4 separate regions of the Homo sapiens genome follow, and regions 2, 3 and 4 are each linked to region 1. Evidence: promoter capture Hi-C in 16 types of primary human blood cells and fetal thymus (Javierre and others, 2016). All regions are on one chromosome and are shown on one strand. Each heading gives the region's core, a stretch centred on a gene start or on the middle of the fragment in contact. The rest is flanking DNA. Distances are from core to core; before and after follow the strand shown. Region 1 holds the start of CNDP2 (carnosine dipeptidase 2). Region 2 has its middle 56 kb from the start of CYB5A. Region 3 has its middle 24 kb from the start of TIMM21. Region 4 overlaps FBXO15 (F-box protein 15).

What was found. Contacts are between HindIII fragments. The CHiCAGO score rates a contact against its expected background, and 5 or more counts as called.
Region 2: a contact is called between a fragment that was not itself captured here and the fragment with the promoter of CNDP2 in region 1, in 3 of 17 cell types (M2 macrophages, M1 macrophages and M0 macrophages). The highest score is 6.2, in M2 macrophages.
Region 3: a fragment that was not itself captured here is called in contact with the fragment with the promoter of CNDP2 in region 1 in 2 of 17 cell types (naive CD8 T cells and activated CD4 T cells); the score reaches 5.8 in naive CD8 T cells.
Region 4: a fragment that was not itself captured here is called in contact with the fragment with the promoter of CNDP2 in region 1 in 4 of 17 cell types (naive CD4 T cells, total CD4 T cells, non-activated CD4 T cells and 1 more); the score reaches 9.0 in naive CD4 T cells.

Annotation. Positions count from the first base shown.
Region 1 is chr18:74,494,655-74,498,892 of GRCh38, forward strand. It overlaps CNDP2 (carnosine dipeptidase 2), which reads left to right and starts at 1,709. Exons shown (of 12, transcript NM_018235.3): 1 at 1,709-1,777. RefSeq lists enhancers at 995-1,264, 1,822-2,334, 2,718-2,817 and silencers at 1,535-2,044, 2,175-2,224. The HindIII fragment of the contact is 6,969 bases long and covers 156-4,238 here.
Region 2 is chr18:74,234,006-74,238,440 of GRCh38, forward strand. No RefSeq gene overlaps it. Among named protein-coding and RNA genes, the nearest start is that of CYB5A, 56 kb to the right of the region's middle. RefSeq lists an enhancer at 3,627-4,126. The HindIII fragment of the contact is 2,976 bases long and covers 1-2,951 here.
Region 3 is chr18:74,170,649-74,174,878 of GRCh38, forward strand. No RefSeq gene overlaps it. Among named protein-coding and RNA genes, the nearest start is that of TIMM21, 24 kb to the left of the region's middle. The HindIII fragment of the contact is 4,007 bases long and covers 1-3,831 here.
Region 4 is chr18:74,079,857-74,084,078 of GRCh38, forward strand. It overlaps FBXO15 (F-box protein 15), which reads right to left. Exons shown (of 10, transcript NM_001142958.2): 9 at 2,071-2,195. Among named protein-coding and RNA genes, the nearest start is that of FBXO15, 66 kb to the right of the region's middle. The HindIII fragment of the contact is 1,971 bases long and covers 900-2,870 here.

The DNA of each region.
Region 1 (4,238 bases), core at 459-2,958:
AAAAGCCCAGTAGATATGATTAAAGGATGTATCTTCCACCAATGTTTACTTTTTGCAATGTTTGCAAAATGTGTAATATAGTTTTTTCTTTTTATCATTCATGTACAATAATTATTATGAGAATTTAATCCAGAAGAAAAAATGTTAATACTTAAAGCTTTTTGGTTATAGCAAAGTGTCTATGGCCATACCACCCTGAACATGCCTAATCTCATCTGGTTATAGCAAAGTAAATATTAATTTAAATTTTTATCATAGTCTGTTGTAGAGAAATGATTAGGATATGAGTAAGACTATTAAGTATAAAAATGTTACATTTAACAAAATTCTATGAGGGATGTGGAATAGAAATAAAAAATAAAAGAGGAGGCAGGGATGGGGGGGACGGGGTGGCTCACGCCTGTAATCCCAGCACTTTAGGAGGCTGAGGCGGGTGGATCAGTAGGTCAAGAAATCGAGACCATCTTGACCAATATGGTGAAACCCTGTCTCTACTAAAAATACAAAAATTAGCTGGGTGCGGTGGTGCGCACCTGCAGTCCCAGCTACTCGGGAGGCTGAGGCAGAATGGCTTGAACCTGGGAGGCGGAGCTTGCAGTGAGCTGAGACTGGGCTACTGCATTCCAGCATGGCAACAGAGCAAGACTCTGTCTCTAAATAAATAAATAAATAAATAAATAAATAAATATAAAAAGAGGAAACAAACCATGTAAATTTTAAGGGAGGAGACAATTTTAACATTTTACTTTATGTGGGAACGTATACATCTCTTACAACTATTAAATTCATTTTTAAAAAATAATAACTCCCGAGCCATCACTCCTTAAAGAATGTGGTAGTGGTACAAGTTTAAAGAAAGTCTTTTGAGAACACTCTATTGGAAAAGTGAGCAGACTAGGGAATAACAATTTTACCCCCAAGAATTGTTGTTAAGATTAAAAAGGAAAGCGCTGTCGCAGACGCTCAAACACGGTGCTGGCTCTGCTTCCTTCATCAGTTCCTAGGGTCATGGGACACAAATACTAAAATATTTCCACTACTGGTAACGATGCTGGCGAACGCTTTCCTAATCCAGTTCAGACCGACCTCTCATTGGAGCTTGTGTGACCCGCAGGAGTCCGTGCCCCGACTCCGCCGGGACTGAAACGCAACGGAAAGTGCAGTGCTGGATGCGCAAGGGAATGGGAGCGTCGTGGGACCTCCGGAGCCTGGGAGATCAGAGGGTGGAGTCAGGGCCCCCTAGTTTTGGACTCCATTGCCGCACTGCAGGCGACTTCTCGGACCCCACCGTTGAAGCACCAGGCCCCCCGCCCACCCAAGAGCAACCGGGAAGCACAGCACAAGCCCACAGCTCCGGACACGCGCTCCCGTGTGCCCTGCCTCCCCTGAATCCCAACCCACGAAATCTCCGCCCCCTCGCCACGCCCACATCCCCGTCTACCGTCGGGGAGGGGCGACGAGGCGAAAGCCTTGTGGACCAGGCCGGGATTGGTGGGCGGGACGGAAATGGAGCTGGGAGAGGTGACGTCACCTTCCGCACCTGGCTCAGGGCGGAAATGGGGCGGGGAGAGAGTGACACCACCCCTCTGCCTGTGGCTGGATTGGTGGGCGTGGCGGGGGCGTGGCGATGCCTGCCCTCCGGACAAGGCGGGGTTGGTGGCCAGGGCGACCGCGGGGCGGGCCAGCGCCGGGGGTCGTGGCCGGGACACGTGGTACGGAACCGGCGCCGCGCTTGCTGCTGGTAACAGGGCCTTGCCTAGTGGGCCTTCCTTCCCAGGTGGGTCTTCCTGATGGACCTTCCTTCCCGGGTGGGCGCCCTGAGCTGGGAACGGGCTGGGCGGGGAGGACCCGGGTCAGCGGCGAGAGTCACGCCTCATTCGTGGGGGAGCGTGGGGCGCCCGGCCGCAGCCAGGCGGGAACAATGGTGTCCGGGCTGTTCCCGAGCGCGCGGTCGGGGGCGGAGGCCCGTGACGGCCATGGCCCCGGGGCCTCTCGCACCTCCGGGCCACTCGTGTCCCAGCAGCGCCGAGCGCGTCCCCGGTACGCAGGGACAAGCTGGGCGGCGCACTTGGCCTGAGCCTGCGTGGCCCTCCCTGGTGGAGTCGAGTGGAACGACCCGGGTTGGAGATGGGGTTGCGGGGAGCCGAGCGCTGGTCAGGCCACACCCCTCCCCAGGGGCCTGCTGAGAACTCCAGCCTTTCTCCAACGGATCCCTTTCCCGGAGACCTGGGGTGGGGAGTGTGGCGGGACAGAAGCCTCCCAGGTTCAAAGGGCCCTGGACAGCGTCCCTAGCTCCCGCCAGCATTTGAGGCAGCGTTTAAGGCTATAGGAGGAAGCGTCTGAGGGGAGACAAAATTCCCATGCCAGCTTGATGGTCTGGGGCAGGTGTCTTATTCAATTGGCTTCAGTTTCCTCATCTGTGAAATAGAGACAATATTTGGTCCTCACAGACAGGGCCACCAAACCAAACTCCCCACCGCCTGCCAAGGTCAGATTCCGTAGATCATCCAAGCATAGACTGCAGGAAGAGGCGGAGAACCCGGGGCCTGCTACCAATACCTTCCTTGTCCCTAATGTTTGCAGGCAGGAGTGGAGGAAGAGAAGTCCACATTATGCTTAGGGATCAAGTTCTAGCTTGGGCAGATTGGAGATTCTTTTATTGGTTCTTAATCAGACATGAAGGTGTGATTCAGTTATTTGTGTTATATATGCCTTCAATTATCAAGGGACAGGGACTGAGATTCTCAGAACTAGAAGACTCATTTGTGTGTACTACTGACGGTTCCAGGTGCCACAGCAATTTCTCCTGCCCTCCACTAGTCTCAACATTTAAATCATGTTACTCCCTTGCCAGGCATGGTGGCTCATGTGTGTAACCTCGGCACTTTGGGAGACCAAGGCGGACAGATCGCTTGAGTCCAGGAGTTCGAGACCAGCCTGAGTAACACGAGCAAACCCCGTCTCTACAAAAAATACAAAAATTAGCTGGGTGTGGTGGTGCGCACCTGCAGTCCCAGCTACTTGGGAAGCTGAGGCAGGAGGATCATTTGAGCCTGGGAGACAGAGGTTGCAGTGAGCCAAAATCACAGCAATGCACTCCTGCCTGGGTGACAGAATGACAACCTGTCTCTAAATAAATAAATAAAGTTACTCCGTATGAACTTTAGATTTTTAGAGGGGAGTGAGGTGTCATTTAAAAGGATAATGCTTTTGCTTAAATCAGCATACTGCTTTTACCTTAATTAGTGGTGTTCTCCAGAGCATATAAAAATGGTTCCATTTAATGGCTTTGTAACGGGGGAGGTGGGGGGAAGTGAAACAGGAGTAACCCAGAAGTGTGAATGGGAGGAGAAACTGGAACCTGGCCTAGCCTGGTTTGACTGGATGAGTGATTAACAGGAGTTGCTTTTTAGCCCATCTCTGATGGTGGAACAATCTGATCCCTGTTTCCTCTCTTTTAGTGAAAGTCGTAACTTAGATAATTACAGTCATATGTTGCTTAAGGATGGGGATACATTCCAAGAAAATGCATTGTTAGGCGATTCGTTGTTGTGTGCACATCCTGAGCTGCGCTCACACAAACCTGGATGGTACAGCCTCCTACATACCTAGGCTATATGGTGTAGCCTATTGCTCCTAGGCTACAAACCCGTACATGTACCTTTACTGGATGCTGTAGGCAGTTGTAACACAGTGGTAGGTATTTGTGTATCTAAACATATCTAGACAGAAAATGAATTTTTTAGCTCCATTATAATCTTTTGGGACCACCGCTGTTGTTGATGGAAATGTTATGTGGCACGTGACTATATTTTTGAGTGACTTTAGCTACAATGCCACTGGTTAATTTGACTACAAGAGAATAATATTAATGAGAATGTACCACAGTGAGCTTGGGATTTGTGGCATTTAATAACCAGGAACCCAGATGAAAATCACCACATGTAGCATATTGTCCTGCTAAATAGGATTTCCTTTAATGTGAACAGGTAGCTTCCCTGCGTACATTTTTGGCAACAGGTGGATGACAGTGTTATTTATTAACACTGATAAACGCCTCTCCAGCGTGCTCATGGGCTCCATCTTACTTGAGGCTCCTCCAAATGAGTGCCTCAGCAGAAAGATCCGAGCTGGCTGGGAGGTATATAACCATTCCATGCTCTGTGGCTAGTGTTTGAAGAGGAGGAAGAGGGCACTTGAGAAGGCAGTGGTTGGATGTCCCACCCACATAGAAATCA
Region 2 (4,435 bases), core at 214-2,713, 260 kb before region 1:
TGATATTCTGGTGGCAACATGTACAAAATTATTATATAAATCTTGCTTATTATATAATCCTTTGGCTATACTTAAGGACAGCTCTTGAGGCAGGCACACTGGGAGCCACGTGGCATTAAACAGATCATCTTTCTTTCACACCCACGCAAGAATCAAAAGCAATGCTAAACAAAGTGTTCATCCAGCCCTTAATCTCCAAGGGGAAGAGGTTACAATAAAAATAATTTCTTCACCTGAGTATCAAACAGTCACAATTCTGGGGAACCCAATTTCCACTTCAGAAAGGCAAATGCTAAGGAATTCTCACCATCTGACTCTCACGGTAAAATCCCGTGCAATTCTTTATGTTTCACACTTGAGAAAAAGAAAGGGCATCAACTTTAACAGCTCCTTGAACTTCGGCCCTTGCAAGGAAAGTGATTGCATAACAGGGTACATATCAACAAGTGAGGCTGTTCTTTATATGTTTTGGCTCAGGAAAGAGCATGTGAACTTTTTTCTGGGGTCAGCATTTGGAACAGACATACCAGTGGGAGGAACAGAGGGTGATAATGTTTAACCAATAAACTGAGCTGAACTCAATCTCCTGCCTTGACAGGGGAACTATGCAAGGTCCTTTGCTTTGAAAGGCTTGGGCTCTGAGCATTCGTCAGCAATGGGTTGAGTCATATCATTGTGTTGAAGTTATTATTCGATGATTGGGAAAATGAGAAATGCTTGGAGGCCTCCACTGACTTTTGACAGACTGAGAAAAGCCAGAGTTTCTTCTTTGAAGGCTTATGAAGCAAGTCCTTCTTCTGCCTGGGGGTTAGTGCCTGTTCCAGCAAGGGCTGGCGAGGGGTACAGGGAGGTAAAGACACAAGCATAGGGGAAGTCATCTGACTGGGGAAGTCACACTGGCTATGCAGTGACACGTCGGAGACTCTCAGTCAATATGAATGAATAAATAGATACATTACACACAGGAAGAGTTTGTATGCAAACTCTGGTATGACTCCTCCAAAAAAAAGCAAAAGCCTATTACCTGATGAGACATGATGTGTTAATACTACTTAATTATGACTTCAAGGCCGGGCGCAGTGGTTCATGCCTGTAAGCCAAGGGAGGCCAAGGCAGATGGATCACTTGAGGTCAGGAGTTCTAGACCAGCCTGGCCAACATGGTGAAACCCTGTCTCGACTAAAAATACAAAACTGAGCTCAGTGTCGTGGCACAGCTACGTAATCCCAGCTACTCAGGAGGCTGAGGTAGGAGAATCTCTTGGACTGGGGAGGCAGAGGTTGCAGTGAGCTGAGATTGTGCCAATGCACTCCAGTCTGAGCGACAGAGTGAGACTCCATCTCAAAAAAAAAAAAAAAAAAAAAAAAAGATATGGCTTCAAGTTCAGGCTGTAGTTGCTTTACAGAAAAAGAAACCTGTTGAACAACATGAGCAGAAAAATCAACTGTTTACATCTTGTGCATTCTAACCTAGAAAACCTCCCTTCAGCCTATGAAATTGGCACTGGTCTGACTTACCTCACCATGTCCAAATCCTTGCTGGCGGTTTCCAAATACTGGCTTGAGGTTTTTAAAAAATTCAAATATCTCTTTGCAACTTGAAGTCCCTTCAATCTATTCTCTAACAAATGTATGGGAAGGCATCAATTTTAGGCCATGCCGATGTTTGAGGTGAGAGAATGTCCACCTTGGATGCAGCTGACAGCTGAGGCTGCTGTCATACCCCACATGAAGTGGGGCTCTGAGGGCTAACCCACTTCCATTTGCTGAACTCAGCTGGATTTTGCTCAGAATTATAGTTTATTCAGGCTGGGGCAGAATCCCCAGGGACTGTCAGGACCAGTTCTGTTGGAAACCTGAGGCCAGTTGGTCTGACCCCTCGGGCAGGGCCATAGGAGCCAGCAGTGGTCTCGGCAGCAGCAAACTTTTACATCTCTGTGCATCACCTGAGCTTTGCAGCAGGAGGAGTGAGGGGCGGCAGCAGCTGCGCAGAGACAGGTTCTGGAGCAACCAGTTCCCGGGACATAGGGATACACACACTCCTTCCTCAGGGACAGGATTCTAAGTTCTGTGTTATATTTGTTAGAAGTCTTTGAGTTGTAGAAAAACCCACCCACCTAAAATTGTCTTAGAAAATCAAGGAAATTTATAAGTTTCAACATTTAAGTTGAAAGAGATTTCCATTCTTGTAGGTCAGCACTTGCCAAATTATCAGCAATATCATATGCTTCCAACCTTCTTATTAGAAGTCCACAATAGGTGTGGCTTCGAGAGAGGCATGATCCGCAGCTCAGCCAGCATGTCCAAGGACTCAGAGTTTCCCAGTCTTTCTAACCCACCTTCCATGTTGACAGGCTCAGCCTCAATCTCTGTGAGTCCCCACCCCAGAAGGACCCAAGATACCTCATGACGTCAACATGGCCATGGCAGCTCCAGACACATGCCTTTACATCCCACCACCAGGGGAGGAAAGCAGTCTCTCCTGAACACACACACAGCAGGGAAGCAGGTCCACGTTCCAAGGAACACTGGTGAAATTCCTTCTGCCTCCTTGGTTCTGATAGAGTGGAATCATTTCCCACTAGGCCAGGGATGGGATGTTCTTTAAGCTCAAGTGAATCCTAACTCAGCCTGGAGTTAGGTGAGGGGTCAATCCCACCTATGTCCCATAGCTGAAAACGAGGGAAGCAGATCTCCCGAGTTAAATCTGGGTGCTGTTACTGGAAGGAGAGTGGATATTCAGTTGTTAAAAAAAAAAAAAGCCTACTGCTCACTCCAAGTACAGAGACAGGTGTCAACTGAACAAGCATTTAAACTTAGTGAGCCCCCCAGGGCTAGATTTCCTCAAGGAGGAATCTTTCAGGGACCAAAGGACCTAACCTCCTGCTGGTCGGGCATGCAGGGCCTCGAGCTGGTCTTTGAATGGAAACTGGATAAGAGTGTTTGTGCCCAAGCTTCAGAGGCCAAGCACATGCCCACACAGTGGTCTCGGAGCCAGCCAGCCTCGCAGTGCTATTCCATATCCTTCCATAGGCCTGGTCACTCCCTATTTTGTTCTTATGGCACTTGTTGCAAACCTCTTCTTTCTCTCCACCACCTCCCTCTCCCTCTCAGTGGGTGGCTTCAGGAATAGGGGACAATAGGCGTGAAATTTAAATTTCCCTTTTTCCTCCCCTTCCCCTACTCCCAATGTCAGGGACATTCTTGCCTCCTTGGTCCTTCTAGGAAGTCTCATTCCGAGACTCCCAGGACCTTGGCTGTCTGTTAGCCCCGTCCCCAACAGCCTCTGCCCATACACAGCTCTTGCAGCATTGAAACACCCATTAGTATCTTCCACCTTTAAAACAAAAATGAAATGAAGAGCCACCACCACCTGCCCATCTCTTTCCCCCGGATCACAGCCAGGGTTCCTGAAATGGCAGTCCCCGCTCTTCTCGTCCACTGCGCACCTCCTGGCCTTCCTCTGCCCTGGGGGCTGCCCTGGATCTGCCCGTGGGTGGTGGCTGCTGTTGCTCCCCCAGAAGACACGTTCCGTCCTAATCTCAGCATAACTGGGTGAGCACAGGGACCTTAGAGACCAACAAGAGGAGCTGACTCTCGCTCCGGCACCCACTTTTCTGGGATCTTGGCTGCTGCATTTTTAAAATGGAGATACTGATCACTTTCTACTCCTCTGTGTGCCATGAGGATGAGATGAGGTCATCCACATCACACCCTCTGAGGTTGCCTGGGCCCTGGTGAGCCCTGCACACATGCTGTCTTGGTGGTCTTGCTCTCCCTGGCCCTGCAGCCCAGGGCACTGCCCAGCACGCTGCTGCCATCTGTGGCTGCGTCTCCCATGGGCTCCCATCCCCGGCTCTCTGATCTCATCCCACATACCCTTCCCAAGGACTGCAGCATCCAGGTGGCCTCAGTGACTTCCATGAGCTGATGACCCTCCAGCCATATCTCCCATCCAGACATCCTCATCCCCTTCCAGAACGTTCTCTCTGGAAGACACAGCACCTTGATCATCATGTATCCCCAGTGCTTTCTACAGAAACTGACATAGGGAAGTGTTTCCCACTCCTGAGTGACTGGATGGATAAGAGATTCGGAATGAAAGCAGAGCGTCACACTATCATATGCTTGAAGTTGTAAGAGGAGTCGATTTTGGCCAAGGAATGTGACTGGAGAAAAGCAGATGGCACAAGACAAGACAGAGGCCTGGGGAGCAGCCCAAGCAGAGGGGTGGAAGGAACAGCCCTCCCACCTCGCAGGCCTCCTGAAAACTCTGGGTGGGGCAGGGCTCCTCCTCCTTCAGGGCAGGGCCCACGATTCTCCGTCCCTCAAAAGCTGCTGGAGATCTCACTGCTGTGGGTCTCCCAGGACACACTGAGGAGCCGGGGTTTAGAGGTCGCTAATTCCCCTTAAAAATAAATGCATGTATACTTTAT
Region 3 (4,230 bases), core at 578-3,077, 320 kb before region 1:
TACTTAATCCAAACACGAGTCACATTTATGAGAATTTACTGTTCACATCCACTGATTATTCTGGCCACCTGAGAATGGACATGGAAATGTTCATTTATTTAAGCAAAGTTGTCAGCATTGTTTCAAAGACATGTAAATGCTGTCAACAAATAAATGCCAAGTGAGGCAAATGGCTTACTGCCCATAGGGAAGCCTCTAAAGGAATATGTCTTGATTTCTAGATGAACCCAGCAGAACCCCTTGTCTCTGGCAAGATGATGAAAATTACCTATACTTTTCCTGGAAGCCACTGGCTGCTCTGTGTTACAAGCTGCGAATACTGCTGTCAATTTTATTTAGGAATAATTCAGATAAAAGATATAAACTTATTAAGCTAAATATCATCAGCATTGATATCAATTTGTATTTAGCCTATAGATACAAGAAATGAGATAAAAATATGCTTCAAGTAGTTGCAAATAATGAAATTGAATCTTCATAGGCTCATTATTTTTCATAACAAAGGATTACAAAAGTGTTCATTTTTACTCTATCAAAGGTGACTGTATCATTATTTGTTATTAATATGGATTTATTTCATTTTTAATGTATTTCATCCAGGAATGCCAATGCATTCACTAAGACCCATGCAGAAGTTTCTCATCCATGCCAATACCACCTGCCACAGCTCTGCGAGGCTCTCCTTATGGTAGCACATGGGAGATCTGGCTGAGGGAAGGAGCCAACCTCTTGGCTGGATTGCATCCAGTCTTTGAAGTGTTCTTGACTTGGCCCCTGTGGTTGCAACTCTGAGGACGTTTTTCAAGGGGGCAGCTTGCATTTCTCCTGTGTGAGGGGCACCCGCAGACTTCTAGTGTCTCAACAAGAGAATTGAGGTTTCAGTGTGTGGAGAGCTCTGATGAGCAGTTAAACGACACAAAACCCTTCAAAATCCAGGTGACTCCACACAGAAGCTCATGTCCCAAGGAAACAGCATGACGCAGCTTCCGGCTAACTCTCATTGGAAGCCCATCAAGCCTCAGTGTCCCCAAGTTACAACCCTTGTTTGTGCCCTTTCTCTTTTCTTTTTTTTTATTTTTTGAGACGGAGTCTCACTCTTATTGCTCAGGCTGGAGTGCAATGGCGTGATCTCGGCTCACTGCAACCTCTGCCTCTCGAGTTCAAGCAATTCTCCTGCCTCAGCCTCCCAAGTAGCTGGGATTGATTACAAGTGCCCACCACCACACCCAGCAATTTTTTTGTATTTTTAGTAGAGACGGGGTTTCAGCATGTTGGCCAGGCTGGTCTTGAACTCCTGACCTCAGGTGATCCATCTGTCTCGGCCTCCCAAGGTGCTGGGATTACAGGCGTAAGCCACCATGCCTGGCCGTTTGTGCCCTTTTTCTCCTGCTTCTCTGTCTCTGATGTCCCTCCCTCCTCTCTCTGCTGTCCCCCCTCCTCCTCTGTTTCCTCATCTCCATACTCTCTCAGACTGTAATAAAGACTATAATAAAGACTAGTGCCTTAAACAGGTCCTAAACACAACCATGTCGACAGGTGTTTATGTTCCTTTTTCTTGGTTTAAAATCAGGCAAAGTGAACATTTTAGGCGCCACCGGATCAGTAGAGGTGAGGAGGAGTCTTGTGGATTGGGAGAAGCATAAAGTGAGAAAGGTGCCCTTTCCTCAGGTCAGCTCAGCACAACAGAGAGCTCCCCACCCCGCCGATCTTTCTAATATTAATACCAGGACCGCATCTCATTCTCAGACCAGCTCCTCATAGTTTCACTTTCTTGTTTGCAGTGAACAGGTCCAGAGACTCAATCTTTCTTCTCTTGAGCAATACAGCTTCGCAATTGAGCATTTGGGCTCAGAATTCAGACAGCTGTAGCTGTGTCAAGTCCCAATTCTACCACTGCGACAGGTCATTTACTTTACTTCTCCGTAAATTGCCTAGTTCCTTATCTGTAAGTGGGAAAACGATAGTGCTGATCTTGTAACTCTTTCTGATAATTAATTGTATGTAAAGTTCTAAGGAAGACTGCAGTGAAGGAAAGGGTGCAATCTATTCCTTAAAGTTCTAAGGAAGACTGCAGTGAAGGAAAGGGTGCAATCTATTCCTTAAAGTTCTAAGGAAGACTGCAGTGAAGGAAAGGGTGCAATCTATTCCTTAAAGTTCTAAGGAAGACTGCAGTGAAGGAAAGGGTGCAATCTAGTCCTCAGGAAAAGTGCTAACTCCGTAGTGTGGCTCTTCCCACCGCGCCTGCGCACGCTGCACATGCAGGAAGATGCTGCCAACGAGGGGAGGATCTCGCCGGGCAAATCCCAACGGTCTCACCTGGCTCCGTGGCGAGCTCCCATGGGGGAAACAAAAATATCAACAAAACAGGACAACATGCCAAAAACAAGGCGAGTGCCGAGATCAGAGAAGAGGGAGCTATTCATTCTAAGGGCAGGACCGGGGAAGGCTTCAGGTGTTTCTCTGCGCAGGGGCCCAGAAAGGGGCTCTAAGCCATCGCTGCACCTTGTAGGGAAGCAGTGAGGATGGGACGAGGAGGGTCCCGCCTGGCCACCACGTCCTGCATGCTGAGGAGAGGGTCAGAACCCGCTCAAGGGAAAGCCTGGCAATGCCAGCCCTCCTTACCTCGTGGCCAAGTCCGCTTCCCGCTCGGCGCTCTCAGCCCTGTCCCCCTCCCGGTTCCTCCTCCCTTCCTCACCCAGTCCTCCCAGTCCTCCCAGTCCTCCCAGTCCTCCCAGTCCTCCCAGCTGCACTCACTGCGCTATTTCTCTCAGCAGCTGGCTTGGGCTCCAGTCTCTGGAGGGTGCTTTCATCTCTCTTCTCCGCCAGCTCTGTGGTCCCAAGGATGCTCCTCTAGGTAACACTGCCAGCCTCGCCTCCCTGCCTGTAACTCCACCGGCTTCCTGCCTCCTTTTCCTCATGGAGGGCTCCCACCGGGGTGCCACAGCCTTGGGTGCGGGGCGGGGGTGGTGAGGAAACGCTGAGCGTGACAAATACTTGATCCTTTGCTGAGGAGATTGGGTTTCCTTCCCTGAGTGATGGGTAGCCATTGAAAATTTGTTTTGTTTTGTTTTGTTTTGAGACGGAGTCTCGCTCTGTCGCCCAGGCTGGAGTGCAGTGGCGCGATCTCGGCTCACTGCAGGCTCCGCCTCCCGGGTTCCCGCCATTCTCCTGCCTCAGCCTCCCGTGTAGCTGGGACTACAGGCGCCCGCCACCACGCCCGGCTAATTTTTGTATTCTTAGTAGAGACGGGGTTTCACCGTGTTAGCCAGGATGGTCTCGATCTCCTGACCTTGTGATCTGCCCGCCTCAGCCTCCCAAAGTGCTGGGATTACAGGAGTGAGCCACCGCGCCCGGCCGCCATTGAAAGTTTTTAAGAAACTGACTTGCGTTCAAGATCACTCTGTCAGCCAAGTAAAAACTGGATTTATTATTTATTTATTTATTTATTTATTTTATTATTATTATTATTTTGAGACCGAGTCTCACTCTGTCGCCCAGGCTAGAGCTCAGTGGCGCGATCTCAGCTCACTGCAACCTCCGCCTCCCGGGTTCAAGCGATTCTCCTGCCTCAATCTCCTCAGTAGCTGGGATTACAGGCACCCGCCACCACGTCCGGCTAATTTTTGTAGTTTTAGTAGACACGGGGTTTCACCATGTTGTTCAGGCTGGGCTTGAACTCCTGACCTCGCGATACACCCGCCTTGGCCTCCCAAAGTGCTAGGATTATAGGCCTGAGCCACTGCACCTGGCGAAAACTAAATTTAAAAGGTGAGAAGTTAAAAAGAGAGGAGCTAGCTCAGAGAGGATGCCCTTGGCCTGAGAGGTGACGGAAGCTTAACGGTCAGGCTGCGAAAGTGAATGGGGACATGGGGCAGAAGCAGGTTTGGGAGATGTTAGTAAGTAGGATGTGGAGGATTGGAAACCAACCAGATGTACATGGAGAAGAAAACTTAGCCAAAGATGGCCCTGTGGTAATATTTTCCAAAATTCACTCCATGGATTTTATCAGACTTTCTATTTTTAAGAAAGAATTTTATGGTAAAATAGTTTTTTTAAAATATGAAATCATACTTTAACATTTAAGTTAAAAATCTTCTCGACTGCAGGATGTCTAAGGTCATTGAAAAAACAACTTATAACAGTCAATATCTAAGTGGGGAGTTAGGACGAAGACATTCTCAAAGTTATTTGAAGAAAGAACCTTCTCCCAAAGATACACACACACACACA
Region 4 (4,222 bases), core at 635-3,134, 410 kb before region 1:
ACATCACTTCAACCAACACGACACAACTAGGCAGCATCCTCCGTCATTATCATTAATATTTTCTCACTTCTTTGTCCTTCCACCAGCATCGTATTTGGGTGACGTACTTTCTCAGTAGCCTATGCTCTGACAGGCATCGTAAACTATTTAGTAGAAGCTCCTCACCAGAGGTTGTGTCTACAATTTCCAGAAGGAGCCGGGTTTTTATTTTACATTTTTTTAAAAGTCATATGTACCTAAGAAACTTTCTAAGCTTATGTCCATGCTTTAAAAAAAAAGTTTTTAACTCCTTCCAAGCAATTTCTTAAAATAAATGTTATCATTTCACTATTCTTAGGGTGATCAGATTCCTGGAGAGAAATACCTGAGCTGCACAGCAAATACAAGACATATGACATCACTGATCTGACTTTTTATTCTTTTGGGAATTCTGAGGACGGCTTAGTCTTAATACTGAATCCAAGAGCATAAAAGGCAAACAGAAAATAAACCACATCTACCCTCCAGGCCCAAGGGAGAAGGTACAAGCTTTTGAGCTATCTGCTATCTTTTCCCAAAGCCCATCTGAGAGAAGGAATTTATGGGGAAAACTGTCCAGGGACATGCAATCCATTCTCTACTTTAAAAACTCAAAATCCTGCTTTCAGATCAAGCTGTTTTTCTAAACACCTGTGCACCTCAGTCACATTGGTTTAGCAACCTACAGAATCACTGCTTGGAGCTCATGTAAAGGTCCAATTTTGAAGCCGTATCTTCAGCTTCTCTGAGAACTTCTATGAGAAATCTGTGAGTGCATCTGCTGCTAAGATGCTATTCAGGGTGGGTCCATTATGTAGCTTAGTCTGCCCTACATAAAGTCCCATTGGAAATTTTGTTTTTAATGATCAGAACTGGGATAAAGCTTTCTTTGTATAATTACTACATTTCCCTTTTTTCTCCCAATGAGAACTAAATGACTGCTCTCATCTTTCTCTGGACTACCAGAAAACACAGAACAAATTATTTTTAAAAATTATGCTGACCCTTTAAAAGACAGTCACATTCACATTCTGCCTTTCTTGATCCTCAAGGTCTATTTTGACGTGAATATTTTATCTTAGTACCTACTTTTATTATAGGCTTTATTGAAATCTGAAGAAAAAGAAAGAAGGTAGGTCTGTGCTCTTAAAGGCATGAAACAACATGGTGTGTGATAAACATCATTTTTACCAAAACTTAAACATTTGCTATGAATAAATAGGATTTGTAAAATATCTCATTGCATCAAATATCAAGTGGCTCAAGGGACAGTGCTTCATGATAACACCACTCTTGGTCCCAGTCGTCATCATTAATAGTTCTAACAAGGTGCGCATGCATAGCGCCGTATAAAGCCATGTTACAGGAGGCCCCCGCAGTCACAGGAGATTGATCCCACTGGTCCCTGGGACAATGAAAATCTTGTTCATCCCATAAAATAAAGTTGGAGAGTGACAAGAACCAGGAGCAGCCATGGGCACAAGGACAGAAGAAAGCAAAACTGTGAGAACATCTTTCTCCTCTTCCTCCTCCTCCCTCCTTCCCTGCTACTTCCCAACCACTAAGTCAACTCTCCCACCCATGTGGCTAATCTTTATTTAACAGTTCAAGGAAATCCCTATATCCTGGACTAAGAATTTATAACTGCAATAAGTTTTAAATTGGTACATGGATGATCAAGATGTTTTGAGTAGATGCTGCCTGCGTGGTCCAACCTTCAGTTCCACTCTCTTTCCACAAAACAGAGGGGCTTTGAGAGAGTAGGGGACTGTGATCAACAGTGTTCTGAAATGCTGCTGCAGACTACCTGCCCCTCCAACTCCACCATACTCAGTGACAAATGAAAGGTACTCAATAAGCATCTCATGAGTGAATCCACTGGCTGTCAATGGCTAACAGAATGTGCACCAACCTTCAGAAACCAGAACAATAAATCCAGAACTATAAAAGAAACATCATACATATATGACAATATAATTTATATATATAAACAGACTTTTTATTATATAGAAATCAAGTTACTTGAAGAAAAGAAAACGGTTCTGTTTTTACCTTTATACAGCCATCAAAAATATCAGTTTTCCACGAGAGGCCAACTTTTCCAATAAGAGGTAGGTGTTCTCTGTTATTTTTTAAATGTATAACAATGAGCTTCACATGTCCATTTTCAATATTTCCTGAAAAGATATAAGATTGTTTCAATCACTGTCTTCCAGTGCAAGATGACAAACCAAGCACGTTCAGTCGGCGACTTTATAAGGATACCTCACCCTGGTAAGCCCTGGCCTCAGCGATGAGGGCAACATGGGCACAGCAATCCCAGCCTCTGGCTTGAGGCCAGAGTGATGCATCTGTGTCCCAGAGGCAGAAACATTAACAAGTGCCCAGAAAGGTGATGTCAAAGGTGAGTCAGGGGAAGCTGGCTGAGGCGAGCCTGGATAGCCACCTGTCACTGATGGAAAGGTGGTCGCTGAAGGAGGAAAGGGTTCTTCTGATGTGGGTAAGCCAACAGTGTTGGAAACCGATATCTAGAATTACACAGCTGAAGAAAGCAGGTGCAGAAATGGCAAAGAAACAAGGGGCTGGAGAGCAGGCGAACATGAAGAGGAGTGGAAGAAACTCACATGAAATAAACCAACACCTCTGCACATGCTTGTAACTGAGTGAGAGTCCGTGCACATGCCCACCTAGCTGGAGGCCAAACCCTGGCCCTCTGCTGCCAGCTCCAAGCCAGCTACTGGCAGCCTGGCCACACGGAGGAGCCCTCGCACCCACACAGCACACTAGCCCTGCTGCCACAGGCCTCTTGTGGCAGGGAGAGCCGCAGCACCACTCGGTCTCACACAGACACAAGCTTCCTGGTTCTGTCTGAACGCACCCTGAGAAGCGACCATCAGTTGCTTCTCACACAAACCAACCGACAGCAACACAACTCATACCCGAGAATTCTCCAGAGATGGAAGTCTGAACAAAGGGAAGATGCAAGTCACAGGGCAAAGCAAACAGAAAAATCATGGAAAAGAGCAAATGTTCTCCAGCCCTGGCCTGGTTATTTCATGAGACAAAATAAAACCAAAGCCAAGCTGCCTTGGGAGCCAAAGCTCTGCTCTAGAAATGTTATACAGTGTTCTCCAACTTCAGTGTCACCAGAAGGTTAAAGCCCACACTTTGCCTGGGGCCTCTTTTGTGACCCAGTAATATGCTTTAAGTGAAAGAGGACGCAGAGGCAGGGTTTCCAGCCCCGCAAACGGGAGCTCCTTGCCCAGATGCCACACTGCTGGTTTCTCCACGTCTTACTTCTGTTCCAAGGACAGAGGCAGCCCACATTTTCCTCTCTAATGCTGAGTAATTAGCAAGAGCTGTGTAGCTTCCCTTCCACTCTCCCCAGGCATAGGAAGAAATGCCAAATGACACGGACCCTTCCCAGGCAACAGCTCTGCTGTCACCTCATCACCTCGTCACCTCAGCAGGGCTCGACGGAAGCAGGGAGGAAGTGTATGAAAAGCGAGGCCTCAGTGGAGGCACAGTAATGACATTCTGAATGGACCAGATGTGACTCTGCTCTGCCCTGCACTACTGCAGCCACGTGCAAAACCAAGGGAGGCCTCTGACTGGTGCGGCAAAGGCAGGCAGCCGACGGCGCCTACAGAAAACCAGGAGCTCATCTTCCACACAGCTTGTCCCCAGGACACGGCAGAAAATGCACTCCAAATACAGCAGCCAATAACGTCTCAGTGGCAACTGCCTGAGCTAATAAACCTCAAATCCCTGTAGGAAGCAGAGACTGTTATTTTGTTATTACCAGGTATTCTCCCACTTCAGAACAATTATAACACTGTGGTGTCTCCAAAGGTCAGAGCTCTTTCCGCCAACCCTCTGTAACCACTTATAAGACAGAGAAAGGTTAAGCTCTTCCTACATTTAAACAGTCTGCACATGGAACAGATGTGTGAAAGTGTGTGTATATAAAATAGGTGTATTTTTGAGTACTTATTGTATACCAACCACTGAGTTAGACACTTAACAGCTTAGAAGAATACTTTAACACCTTAATAATAATATTAACTGGGTAATATAATTTTCTGAATTCATAGGTGATAAAACTGATGCAGAGAGGTTAACAGTAACTCGCCCAAGGTCAGATCCCTGGTCAACGGCAGAAACATGATCCAAACCCTGTTCTGTGTCCAGAGTCTATGTTACA